Regions from separate parts of the Homo sapiens genome. Here region 1 is linked to region 2. The links are contacts of gene promoters, found by promoter capture Hi-C in human tissues and cell types (Jung and others, 2019). All regions are on one chromosome and are shown on one strand. Each heading gives the region's core, a stretch centred on a gene start or on the middle of the fragment in contact. The rest is flanking DNA. Distances are from core to core; before and after follow the strand shown.

The links. Contacts are between HindIII fragments. The study calls those that stand out against the background at their distance.
Region 1: a fragment that was not itself captured here is called in contact with the fragment with the promoter of PLEKHH1 in region 2 in 1 of the 25 tissues and cell types used here (hippocampus).

What each region holds. Positions count from the first base shown.
Region 1 is chr14:68,811,386-68,817,687 of GRCh38, reverse strand. No RefSeq gene overlaps it. Among named protein-coding and RNA genes, the nearest start is that of ZFP36L1, 21 kb to the right of the region's middle. RefSeq lists enhancers at 581-630, 731-780, 655-1,394, 1,721-1,940, 2,546-2,665 and 1 more and a silencer at 881-1,270. The HindIII fragment of the contact is 6,181 bases long and covers 1-6,115 here.
Region 2 is chr14:67,528,981-67,535,693 of GRCh38, reverse strand. It overlaps PLEKHH1 (pleckstrin homology, MyTH4 and FERM domain containing H1), which reads right to left and starts at 2,404. Exons shown (of 29, transcript NM_020715.3): 1 at 2,296-2,404. It also overlaps a transcript of GPHN not described here and a transcript of TMEM229B not described here. RefSeq lists a silencer at 2,311-2,780. The HindIII fragment of the contact is 40,466 bases long and covers 1-6,713 here.

The DNA of each region.
Region 1 (6,302 bases), core at 1,776-4,275, 1.3 Mb before region 2:
AGCTCTGTGGGTACCAGAGGCATGGGCCTAGGAGGCTGTGACCCCCTGCCTGGCCCCCTACCAGTCTCTGCTTCTACAGACAGGGTCTGCATCTTACCTGCTCCTCCTGCCAGTTCCAGTCCCCTCCCCATTCCCCTCAGGACCTCATCCCTCCTCCTGGCCTCAGCTTAAGGGTTTCCTCAGAGAGGTCTTCCTCAAGAACCTTCCCATCCCAAATCTAAATGAGTGCCCCATTTATATATGTTCTCTGAGCACCTGATTCTTTTCCTTCATAGGAATTTGAAAGTCTTTTCAAATGGAATCTTATATTTCTTTCTAGGTGATTTGTTGAAACAAGTCTGTCTCCTCCGTTAGACTAAGCTCCGCGAGGGGTGAGAAAGTTGTTCCGTCCACTCGTCCTCCGGGGCTAGCAGGACATATTCTGTATTAAATGAGTAGATGACAGAAACCCCGTGAGAGAAAGAGTGAGCCGAGCCAGTGGTTCTCTAAGTGTGGCTCCAGGACCAGCGGACCAGCAGCTCAGCATCGCCTGAGGATTTGTTAGAAATGCAAATTCTCTGACTTGGTTGGGGGACCCAGCAATCCGGGTTTGAAAGAACTGTCCAAGGGGGGATTCCTGTGCACACTGAAGTTTGAGAACCACCGAAGGCGGCAAATCCCCTGCTGTTGGGTGAGTGTGCACTGTGGCAGCTTTGGTGACCTGTAAGAGGAACCATGGATGAGCAAACCCCACCTTCAAATGTAGCAAAGGGCAGAGAGAGGGTGGACACGTCACCCAGACCCCCAAAAGGGGCCCAGACGTGTTGTTCGGCGAGCTGGCCACTGGAGGGCAGTGTGGCCACGTCCATCGTGCTGCCTCCGAGGGCTTCCGGGGGAGAGCGGCCGCGGGAGGACGGGAACGAAGCCGTAGCGAGAACCTCGCCCCACGCCGCAGCCTCCTGCAGCAGCGTCGGCTCGCCGGCCCCTTGCGTTCCGAGCCGCCCAGGGAGCTCAGCCGCCGCAGCCCCGGCCCCTGTGTCTCCCCTCGCGGGCCGGGCCTGGTGTGCACGTCTGGATGGCCTCGGGCCTGGAAGGTTTGCGAGGCCCCGGGAGCCGCAGACCGCGCCGGGGAGGAGATCCCGGCAGGCCGGCCGGGGCAGAGCGCCAAGGAGGGCGGCGGAACCTTGGCTGTTTCCCGGGAGGCCAAGGGCAGCCTTCCCGCGTGATCCGCGCGCTGCCGAGCGCGTCGGCCATCTTGGCGGCCTCGCCCGGGCCCCGCGCCCGGCCCGGCTTGGTTCTCGCTCGCGGCTGAGCAGACGCCGGGGTGGCGACGGGAGAGCCCGACCGCGAAGCTCGGCCGCAGGAGTGCGTGGGCGTCGCAGAAGCCCAGGAGAGCCCTGGACCTTGGTAGCTTCCCGGGGGTGCTGGGAAACGCCACCCCAGTAGCCGCCAGGAAGGCAGGCCTGAGCCTCCGAGCCTCAAGTGAATTGGATGGTGCCAGTCGCCCTTCTTCTTTTTGCCCCATATTCAAAGAGCGGGAAGTCAGAGGGCGTTAAAGTAGGTCACAGCGGTCAGCAGGTTTTTGTGGGGCAGGCAAGTGGCAGGGTCCAAGGCCAGGCGTAGTATCTGGTTGCCTAAGATGCTTGGGCAACTCCTTCACCGGGCACACCAATCTCCGAGCCAGAGGTCAGGGACTGGCCCCGCGGAGCTGGCTGCAGGCGGCCGATGCATTCCAGTCCCTGACCACCATGGGGACTTGAGGTGCCATTCTGAGGAGCCCCAGGCCCCACCACGCCTGTTGCCTCTGTCTAGAGTAGTTCACACATGGATGCTGTCTCTCTGGTACTTGGGTGTTTCTCAGGTTCCAGAACATCCGTTCATCTTACCAGTCCTTCAAGGTTCAGCTTAAAGATCAGCTCCACCAGGAAGCCTTCCTGGATTTCCCCTCTTAGTTTCCAACAGAATCCGTCTCTTCCGTTCTCTGCCCACCTTGAGTAGCAGTAGCTTCAGCTGTAGACTCTCCTGTTTTTCCCTTACAGTCTTTGTTGCTGCATCCTCTTTCACTGAATTGTTGATGTGAGACCCTAGACTCTCTTGTTTTTTCGTTACAGTCTTTGTTGCTGCATCCTCTCTCACTGAATTGTTGAATTGTGAGACCCTGTGAGGGTCGGCACCCTGTGATACTGGCCAGGAAAGGGTTGTTGCAAGGGGATCATGGGATTGTTGAATGGGTTTTGATCTGGATTTTGATGTTGGAAATCAAGTTCCCAAATGTTTTCAACCTTGGGTAAAGGAACATGTAATGGTGTTTTTTAAGGCTGTCATGGAATCCTTTTGTGTGTTTAATTGCTTTGTTATTTTAGTAGAAATGTCAGGGTGTCAGAGGAACAAAAGCCATGGGTCTGAGCCCAAGCAAGAAGACAAACCACTGAGCCCGTGCTGGGTGCTTCCTCTGCGTGGCCTCAGGGTCAGGGCCTGTCAGATGGAATGGCAGGCTGCGGGTCCAGCCCCAAGGTCCAACCAAGGAAGCTCCTGGGGCCTTGGCCGAGCTTGAGGCTGTGATTTCAGACTCCTCGCTGGTCTAGGTCGGTATTTCAGAGGAGGCAAAAGAGAAAGTGCCTTCACAGCCTTGGAGAAGACTGGGAGCTAAAGGAGACATCCTTGCTTTTTCCTTTTAAAATAATAAGCCAAATGTTCTCCCATGAAGGACTCCAGAAAACCCCGTTCATGCCTCACCCACAGATGATTTGCTGAATGCTCATTAAGGGGAAAACAAAGAGGTGGTTTTGTTTATTTATTTAAAAGGAAAAATAAATGAGCTGTGACAAAACAATTTGAAACCAGGCCCCTCTGAGACCTGGGCTTTCACTTCCTTGATGGGAAGTAAAACAGAGAATCAAATCCCCCTCCAAATAAAAGTGAAGTTAATAATCAGACAGCTCGAGCCCTGGCCACATCCTGTCAGCCCCCTCCCTCCCTAGGCTCTCTGTTTATAGCTGCCGAGTGCTTTCCCTCCAGAGCCCAAGCCGGCTTAACCCTTTCCTCCCCATCCAGGGAAGCCCAACCCTGCTCTTGAGACTGGAGGTGGGTTCCTCACACCCACTGGTGCTGGCCTAACCTCAGCAAGCGGTGGCTCTCCCCAGGCCTGCCGGCATGGGCCTGTGTCCCCCACAGGGCAGCCAGCTTGGATTTGAGTGATATTCTCTGCTTGTCCTGCACAAAGCCTGAAAGTGTCACCTTTCCTCTCCATACCTCCAGGGGAAGACTAGGCCAACCCATTCCCATTCCAGACGCCATGCAGCTTCTATAGCCCGGTGGGCTCCAGAAAGCTGCATTCTGACAGAAAGAGGCACAAATCTTTGGGGTTTCTGGTCTGCACAGAGAGCAGCACTCTGTGCATGTCTCTGGGCTACTTTCTGTGAAAACTTTCCACTTCCTTCAAATGCCTTCCATTGTAGTAGCATGTTGATTTCTTCCAGAACCCCATGGGGTCAATAGTAGCACATCCCACTGGGCAGAGGAGGGCCCCTTGCTAAATTAATTTTGAGTTCTCTACTGTTCTAGGCAACGACTCTGCCCTATAGGGCCATAGTTATCCTCATTTTACAGAGGAGGAAACAGGGGTTAAGTACTTTGCCCAATGTTACAGAGCTAATACATAGCAGAGCTAGGATTTGAACCCAGGCATTCTGGCCCCGGCGTGCCCTTAGCCTTTGCACTCAAGGTTTAGCAGCCAGAGATTGCTCTCTTCTCTGGAGCCAGGGGGCTTTCAGAAGCTCAGGATAATCTTATGACTGCATTGTGAAGGTCTCAAAGCCCAAGGACCTTTCGAGAACATTCTTGAGTTTTGTCTTGGGCTCTCCAGCCTCCTTTCTTGTTTCCTCTTATGGGAGAAGAGGGAGCAGGTGGAGCCAGTGCAGGGCTCCATCCATTCTCCTCCAGAATCAGCAGGGTCAAGATGTGGCTGGATGTGAATCCTCCATCCCTTCATCTGGCTGGCAGACTTAGAGCAAGAACCCAAAGACTTGGTGTGGCCACTCTGACGGTGGTCTGGATGACCTTCTGCTTAGGTTCCCTTGTCTCCTCCAGTCTTGTCACCCAAAGTCCCAAATACCCGCTTCTGGCTGAAGCTTGTCAGCAGGAGGCCACCCACACAGTAGCCTGGAGCGTGAACTGGCTGTGCAGGCCACCTGCCTCTCCTGGGAGTCCTGCGTGCCATGGCTCCTTGATTTCTTCTTAGAACTGTATCTCTTGCCTGGCCACTTTTGCACAGCCATTTGGCAGGGCCTTTGCACCAGTGAAGGTACATTGTGGTGTATAGAGGCCTTCAGGGACCACTTGCCTGAGACTCAGCTCCTTTTTGGGAGATGTTGCCACGCCCAGGGTCTGCTGTTTGTCTAGAGGACCCTGAACCCCATCTTTGGGAAGGGTTGGTCTGCTGCAGGTCTGCTTTCTGGGGGTGCATTTTGACATTCAAAGCCATGGACCAGAGTGGGCAGTGCCTTACTCTTCATTTTCCAAGTAATTCTTCAACTAGAGAGAGCTGTGGTGGCTCTATCCCAACTGCCCTGTTCTTTCCAGAGCCTGGGCAGCTCCTCTGGCTGGGGGGCGCTGAGCACAGCCATGGCTTCTGTGACACTTGAAGGGGCTGACACCCAGCAAGGTACCTGGCCCAAAGGGGTTTCAGAGGATGTGTGCCTTGATTTTTATTTAATTTAAATGTTTAAGAAAAGCATTCAAATTCAGAGTGTTCACGATGGGGTGGCTCTACTGTGGTCCTCTCAGAGGCTTAACAGCCACAAAAAAGCCACATATTAGACCCACCCTGTTACAGTTCTTACTGTGCTAGGCACTCGACACACTGATCTCATTCACCCTCATGCCCTGGGAAATGGGGGATATGTAAGTATCCCCATTTTCCTGTTGTGAAAAGTAAGGTTAGAAAGGTTGAGTAGCTTGCCTACCCTGCTATGATGGCTTTCTGCTGAGGAAATAAAAAAAAAAGTTCATTGTGCTTTAAAAATATATTGAAACCAATTTTATAGTAATTTTTACTGAGCTTAAAAGCAGTGTCAAAATGGACATCAGTCCTTCTGCCTGTACTCTTCCAGCCCAAGAGGCCCAGAGGGGCAGGACCCCACTCTTGGTCCCCACATAAGTGTGGGGAGGGCTGTGTAGGTTGCTTTTCTGACCTCGGGTGGGGGTGTCCATCTGTTCTCCAGCCCTCCCTGACAGGTTTTTCCATAGCTTCATTTCTTGTCCAAGAACACGTCTGTAGGAAGTAAATACTGTATTGCAAGTGCTAGTAAGACAAGAATCATTGAGTTAAAACATTTTTAGTTTTTCTGAACTTAAAACATTTTATTATGGAAAATTTCAAATATATGCAGAAGGAGACAGAGTGATATGATGAACCCCGTGTACCCACCCAGTCTCAGCATCACCAACTCATGGCCAAACCTGTTCATCAGTGCCACCATCCACCGCCCTACCTCCTGTACAATTCTGAAGTATATCCTGTATATCACATCATATCATTTCATCTGTCAATAGTTCTTCTGGGCCGGGTGTGGTGGCTCATGCTTGTAATCCCAGCACTTTGGGAGGCCGAGGTGGGCGGATCAGTTGAGGTCAGGAGTTTGAGACCAGCCTGGCCAATATGGTGAAACCTTGTCTCTACTAAAAATACAAAAATTAGCCGGGCGTGGTGGAGTGTGCCTGTAGTCCCAGCTATTTGGGAGGCAGGTGAATCGTTTTAACCCGGGAGATGGAGGTTACAGTGAGCCGAGATTGTGCCACTGCACTCCAGCCTGGGCAACAGAGCAAGACTCTGTCTCAAAAAAAAAAAAAAAGTTCATTCTTTATCCCCAAAGAATAGATTCTTGTCAAACTTAGCCACATTATCATTATTCCACCTAAAAATTAATAATACCCCCTAAACATTACCAAGATTCAACTGGTGTTCAGATTTCCCAAAACACTTTCAAATTCTTTGCTTTTCCACTTACTGAAAGAAAAAAAAAATCAGCCTCCAAATAAAAATTTCTCAGCATCTGGTCATCTCCTTACAATCCAGCTCACAAAAGGACAGACTTCTGAATCTGGGCAGAAACACCCAGTTATTAAGTCTCTGAGGTGATGATCACGCTGAAATCTCCCGCTGCAGCTCCCTATTCAGCCAGCGCCTTGCACATACTGGGTGCTAGGTCAATATGGGCTCCGTTTCACATAAGGATGAACACATGCAATGGTAAGGATGTAGCCAGGTTGAGCTAATTAGGGGAGACTGGAGCGCAGCCCCCTGCGTCCTCCCACCCACACAG
Region 2 (6,713 bases), core at 1,155-3,654:
AGATGTGCTCACGAGGCTGGGCACGGTGGCTCAAGCCTGTAATCCCAGCACTTTGGGAGGTGGAGGCAGGCGGCTTACCTGAGGTCAGGAGTTCAACCAGACTGGCCAACATGGTGAAACCCTGTCTCTACTAAAAATACAAAAATTAGCCAGGTGTGGTGGCGCATGCCTGTTAATCCCAGCCACTTGGGAGGCTAAGGCAGGTGAACTGCTTGAACCCTGGAGGCGGAGGTTGTAGTGAGCTGAGATTGCACCACTGCACTCCAGCCTGGGCAACAGAGCGAGACTCTGGCTCAAAAAAAAAAAAAAAAAAAAAAAAAAAAGATGTGCTCACTACCAGATCTAACTCTGGAGATCTGGAGAGGAGGTCATATGATTTTTAAAGTTATTTTAGAACATTGAACAAAAGGGTATATAGTGCAAAGTAAGGCTTCTTCCCATGCCTGTACTTCAGCCATAGTTCTCCCCAGCGGCAACCACTGTTACAGGTTTCTGTGTGTTCTCTCAGAGATATTCAGAGCATCTACAGGCATTCATATGTATGTGGCATTCACACACCCACCCAAAAATCGTGGCCCACCATACACACTGTACTCAACAATATAACTTAGAGATATTCCTACATCAAAGTATATATCTGCCACATTTTCTCTGCACGCTTTATAACAGCTTTAATGTATCCTATCGTGTGGCTTTTACATGATCTTATTGAAGGGTTCCTTATTGATGGACATCTAGATTGTTTCCAACCTTTTGCTAAACAATGCTGCAATGAATATTCAATGATGTACACCATTTCATATACATCAGAGTATATCTGAAGGATAAAGTCCCAGAAAATGGAATTTAGGGGTAAATGATGTACACTTTAAATTGCCAGACATTTCTTTGGATTTTTTTTTTTCTATCAGGAATGGGAGGAACATGCTCTCCCCTACAGCTGGTGACTTCTGAAGAGGGCAGAAGAGGCTCCACATTTTTTCAGCTTAGTTGTTAGTTTCAATGAGTTTGGGGCCACAGGCTGCACCCCACAATTGCCCAACTCTGAGCAGGCCCCCTCAGCAGTCTATGGGAAGGTGGTAGAAGTGGACTGAACCATACGTTAGGAATTTAGGAGGCTTGGGTTTCAGTTATGGCTCTTCCACTTTTTAGCTATGTGACCATGGGCATATCACAACAATTTTTTTTTTAACAGACAGGATCATCAGCCTCCCAAGTTAGCTGGGACTACAGGCCCACACCACCACACCCAGCTAATTTTTAAATTTTTATTTATTTGTAGACACAGGGTCTCCCTATGTTGCCCAGGCTGGTCTTGAACTCCTGGCATCAAGCTCTCCTCCTGCCTTGGCTTCCCAAAGTGCTGGGATTACAGGCATAAGCCACTGCAACTGGCCTAAATCACAACTTTTCAGAGTCCCAGCTTCCTCCTTTGGAAAAATGGGGCCAATAATATGCAGAAACACTAATACCGATGTTCTATAAAGCGTTCAGTGATGGTACTAGCCCTATACACAGTGTCTGTCACATAGAAGACAGTCCAAACAGTTTGATGAAGGAACTGATAATTCTCCCACTGAATTTTTTAAATGGTCTTTCAAGTGTTTTACCTGAACCAAGGCTCTGTCTTGGAAGAGTTTTATGAGGTGGATTCATAGTAAAAGCTATGGAGGAGATATCCTGGCAAGCAGAAATCCCACAAGGAGAGGAGTTTCCTTCCAGATGAGGCTCTTCACCGCCTCTGCCACCCCCACTAAGGCCCCTGGTTCCTGGTGACCGAGTCCTCGCTAAGACTCCTAGGACACAATGCTCTGTGTCATTCGGCGCCCAACCTGTTTTCTTTTCTGCTTGAATGACCTGCTCCTAGGAGTCGAGCCTGAGCCATAGGGTCCCAAAGACAACACTCAGAAATCACAGAAGAAATAACCTGAGGTGAGATGGGGAGGGGTGCGGGAAGGGGTGAAAGGGAGCGAGCACCGATAGCAAGGTGGCAGCCTGCACGTCCGCTCCGAGGGCCCTTCCCAGGAGCGGCTGGATCTGACCGATCCCCAAGTCCAGGTACTCCCGGGGGAGGCTCCTCCTGGCCTCGCGGCGCGAGTCCCCTGGGGCGCCCGGCTTCCCAAGCCAGACCCGCGCTCCAGCGCTCCCCGCCGCTGGGAGCTCGCTTCCAGGTAGGGAGGCACCTGCTCCGGATCGTCCTCTGGGCCCGAGGGGCCGTCCCCCGCGCGCAGCCTGACGCCCTCCGCCGCGGCGCAGCCCCAGCCCACCACAGCGGCGGGAGCGCGGGTCGCTCACCTCCAGCGAGCTCGCGGCCGTCCCCGCCGCGCACTGGGCACACGGGCGCCCTCGGGCCGCCGCCGCAGCCGACCTTGCGTCGCTCTCGCCGGAGTCCCGGGCTGCCGCCGGTTCTCCCCTCCCCGGCAGCAGGGGTCGTGGGCTGCGGGGCGGGGCGAGGCTGGAGCGGGAGGGGTGCCCGCGGGCTCGCTGCACAAAGCCCGGCCGAGCCTTGCTGCGCCCCATTCAACGCTCCGCCGGGCGCCCTCCTCCCCTCGGCTCCCCGCCCGCTCCTTAAAGGCAGAGCGCTGGGCTCAGCTCTCCAGGCAGCTCGCGGAGAGGCACAGGAAATGACCTCAGCAGGCTCCAGCCTCCCACTTCTCCGCACCGCTGGGCTCGTCCCTGGGGCGGCAGGGAGGGCGGCGGGGTGTCCCGGGCGCCGGCCCGGAGCTCTCCGAGGAGGCCGCACCAGCTGCCGCAAGGGGTGGCCAGAGCGCCCCGGGGATCTGCTTGACCCCAAATAGCGGGGGACCCTCGCGGGCTGCGGGACAAGACCAGACCGTCTCCGCCAAAGGTTCCAGCATTCTCCTGGCCACCTGTGGGAACTGTAACGTCTGGATATTTGGAACAGAAGTCCATATTTCAGTCTGGCAGACCAAATGTTCTGAGTTGCAATTTGCAGGAGAAAAAGAAAAAATAAGTTACGACAGCCCAGAGAGTAACTTACTTGCTTATTTTCTGGTCTCGCTATGTTGCCCAGGCTGGACTCGAACTCCGGAGCTCAAGTGATCTTCCCGCCTGGGCCTCCAGGCCGGCTTATGTATATGTTATTTTAAAGGAGGGCCCAGGAGGACCCTGGCTGCCAGGCAGTTTGCAGGGCAGTCATCAGCGTGCCCATGTGCTCCTCGTTCTCAGACATTTGCAGATCTCAGATCGCCCAAAGCAATCTCATACCCAGAGGGGTTGGAAAACTCAACATTTGGCTAGGTGAGCCTGGAGTAAAGAAGATGCAAATAGAGACCATTGCAGGGAGGGATCCACACTTCAAAACAGAGCCTTCTTCCTCAACCCTGCAGGCTCTCTGTCAGTGAAGGACTGAACAGAAGCAAAATACCATCAGCGCCTGTTTCTCCAAATGGTCCTTGGAAGACTCATCCCAGGCACCATGAAGAACACCCCCACCCTGGGTTTGAATCTGAATCTCTAACTAAAGTACCCCAGGCCATTCTCACGTAGAAGTTTTGAGAGCCCAGACACTAAGGAAAGCTGGTAGTGCAGGAGGCCAAACGTGAGAATTTAACTGGGCCAATGGGACTTCAATGGCTGAACTTGCAAACAGCTTTATAGCTCGTGGGGATTGGGATAGATTAGCCCCATTTTGTGGGACAATGCTCAGGCTATCCACTTCAACATTCCAGAAGTTGCATAAGGAAGCCCAAAAACACGTTCTCTGGATTTTGCTAAGAAGACATTAATTCATTCATTCACTTTTTTTTTTTTTTTTTTTTTGGACATAGGTTCTTCTTGTTCTGTTCTCCAGGCTGGATTGCAGTGGCACAATCATAGCTCACTGTAACTTGAACTCCTGGGCTCAAGCAATCCTCCCATCTCAGCCTCATGAACAGCTGGGACTATAGGCACATGCTACTATACCCAGCAAAAAAAAAAAAAAAAATTTTTTTTTTTTTTTAGTAGAGGTGGGGTCTCAAACTCCTGGACTCAAGAAATCCTCCTGCCTCGGCCTCCCAAAGTGCTGGGATTACAGGGATGAGCCACCGCACCTCGGCCCAGAACTCATTTAATATAACTTTGTTATATAGTGAAAAGAGACGCACCATGGAGAGTGGAATGGGAGGAGCATGCTCTCCCCTATAGCTGGTTACTTCTGTAGAGGGCAGAAGAGACTCCACATTTTTTTCAGCTCAGTTGTTACTTTCAATGAGTTTGGGGCCATAGAGTGCATCTCACCATTGCCCAACTCTGAGCAGGACCCCTTGGCAGTCTGTGGGAGGGTGGTAGAGGTGGACTGAACCCTACATTAGGAATTTAGGAGGCTTGAGTTTCAGTTATGTCTCTTCCACTTTTTAGCTATGTGACTTGGGCAAGTTACAACTTTTGTTGTTGTTGTTGTTTTCTTTTAAGAGATAAGATCTTGCTCTGTTGCCTAAGCTAGAATGCAGTGGCAATCATAGCTCATTGCAGCCCAGAACTCCTAGGCTCAAGCAGTCCTTCTGCCTCAGCCTCCCAGGTAGCTGGGACTATAATACCCACCATCACCCCTAGAGCCCCTTTCTTTGGATATTAGCTTATTATTACAAGTGACCTGACAAAGGAGAATGGAGGATGGAACAGAGAGATGGGAAGAAAAGCCATCATGTGCCTGAGTTGAAGGATATGCTAGGGCATTCTTGTGAAAGAAGATGAGGCCGGGATGGGGACTTGTCAACTGGTCTGAGCCAATTTAGTCCTTCAATGATTGTATTAGCTGCCATGGGACGTGAGAGGTGAGAGGAGGCCATTCGTCTTCTTTTCTGTAATCTCCTGCAGGTGGGATATTAAAAATAGTTAAGGCCAAATTCTGCCAAATATACATGTATTGGCAAGCTGGCACAAAACAGTCACACAGCCTGCTTCAAGAAAATGGGGCAGTTGGCCTGCTCTGGCTCTCACACTCCATTCATGCAAGGGCAAATAATCTTCCTGGCCAACTCCATGTTTTGAAAACTGCTTATTTCACCAATAAAAGATTATTTCTAGCATCCCTCAAGCACATTAAGCCCTTGGGTGTATATTTTGATGTTGTTTGAAGTGCTTATGTAACCATTTTCTGGAGTGCGGATTCCTGATTAGGGCACTTCAGATGCTAACTAACCACTCTAGGAGTTACAGGAGAGTCACTTTATATACACACACTACATGGTTTAGGCTGGAATGTTTAAAAAATAAATTCCTACAGAGTCAATATTACAGCATCTTAGTCTGGGCCTTGTTCCTTGGACAGCACTATGGGAGGGAAAGGGGAACTTGGAACTGGCCAGAGCTCAGTTTAAGCTTTATCACTTAAGTGGTGGTGGGACCTTGGGGCAGTTGCTTAAGGTTTCTGAATTAATTCCATGTTTGTAAAATAATGATGATAATAATTCTGGCCTCTTAGGGTTGTTGAAATGATTAAATGAGATAGTATGTTGTCTGGCATGCAGCAAGTGATCTATAAATGGAAGCTTTTGTTATTTATTCTTTGAACAAATATTGGCTGGAGTTTACGAGAGATCTTGTAAATCTCTGTTTACAAGATTGCAATGGATAAGCAGATGGCTTGAGAGACAGGAATAACTCTAGGAGAGCTGGTGAAATGGTTGACAATTCATCTTCCCTTGTACGAGCCTTCTAGAAACCCTGCTTCCCATCCCTACCTGCTTTCTCTGAGCTCCAAAGAGACCCTCTCCTATATCACCAAAAAAGCCTCAAATCAAGGGATCCCCTCCTCCTGCCTTCAGGACCTGGTTCTCAGTTACTGTTGGAAGGGGAAGAGAGGGGAGAAGAAGGAGAAGGGAGTTTCAGACTCCCAGGAAACTTGGGGCCAGTCCTAGTCCAGGCTTCTGCTCTCTGCCTTGGGTCACAAAGAAGTCAGGAGGTTACTTCTACTGCTGAATCTTTGGGAGCAATTTGGCTCTTCGGTGATTGTCAGGATTAGCCACCATGGGACATGAGAGGTGAGGTAACCATGGGTTAGAGCAGAGTGTCAAGAGTCACCATCTAAGTGGGGCTAGGAAGGCAGTGATTGGACATGCAGAGAAGGGCCAGTTAGGAAGGAAAGGAAATGGCCCAGTGGCTAAATCCTCAGTGTGTGTGTGAGCGTGTATATGTGTGCATGTGAGATGGGTATGGAAAGATGGGAGGAAGTGTCCTAACTTTAAGTATGGACTCTTCTTTCATTTATTCATTCAGTTACTCACTAACAAATATCTATTGAATACTTGCTATTTTCCAGCCACTGTGCTAGGAAGGAAAGTGTGGCAAGTGTGACCTATCAACTCTGGGCACAGGCTTTAGAACTAGACATGCCTGTCCTTGAATCCTGGCTCTTCCACCCAGGGGACACAGGGTGGAAGTAATGCAGTTACCACATACATTCACTGCAAATAATCTGTTCAGTATACCTGTGGGTATGGGAGCCAGAGAGAGCCAGGCAGCGGATGGGGAGGGGAGGGAAGGTGTTCCTCGTTTGTAAATCAGGAATCAGAATTCCTTCCTTAGAGAGTTATTATAAAGATGGAGATAAAGGGCCTGCCTCAGTGCCTGGCATATTATTGGAATCTAGTAAATATTATGAAATGAGGAGGGAACTTGAAGGTGTAGAGGTGTAAAGGACTAGCAAGGCGCCCAAAGACTAGGGAGCTGGAAAGTACCCAGGAGGAGCAGCATGGAAGGAGGGCCTG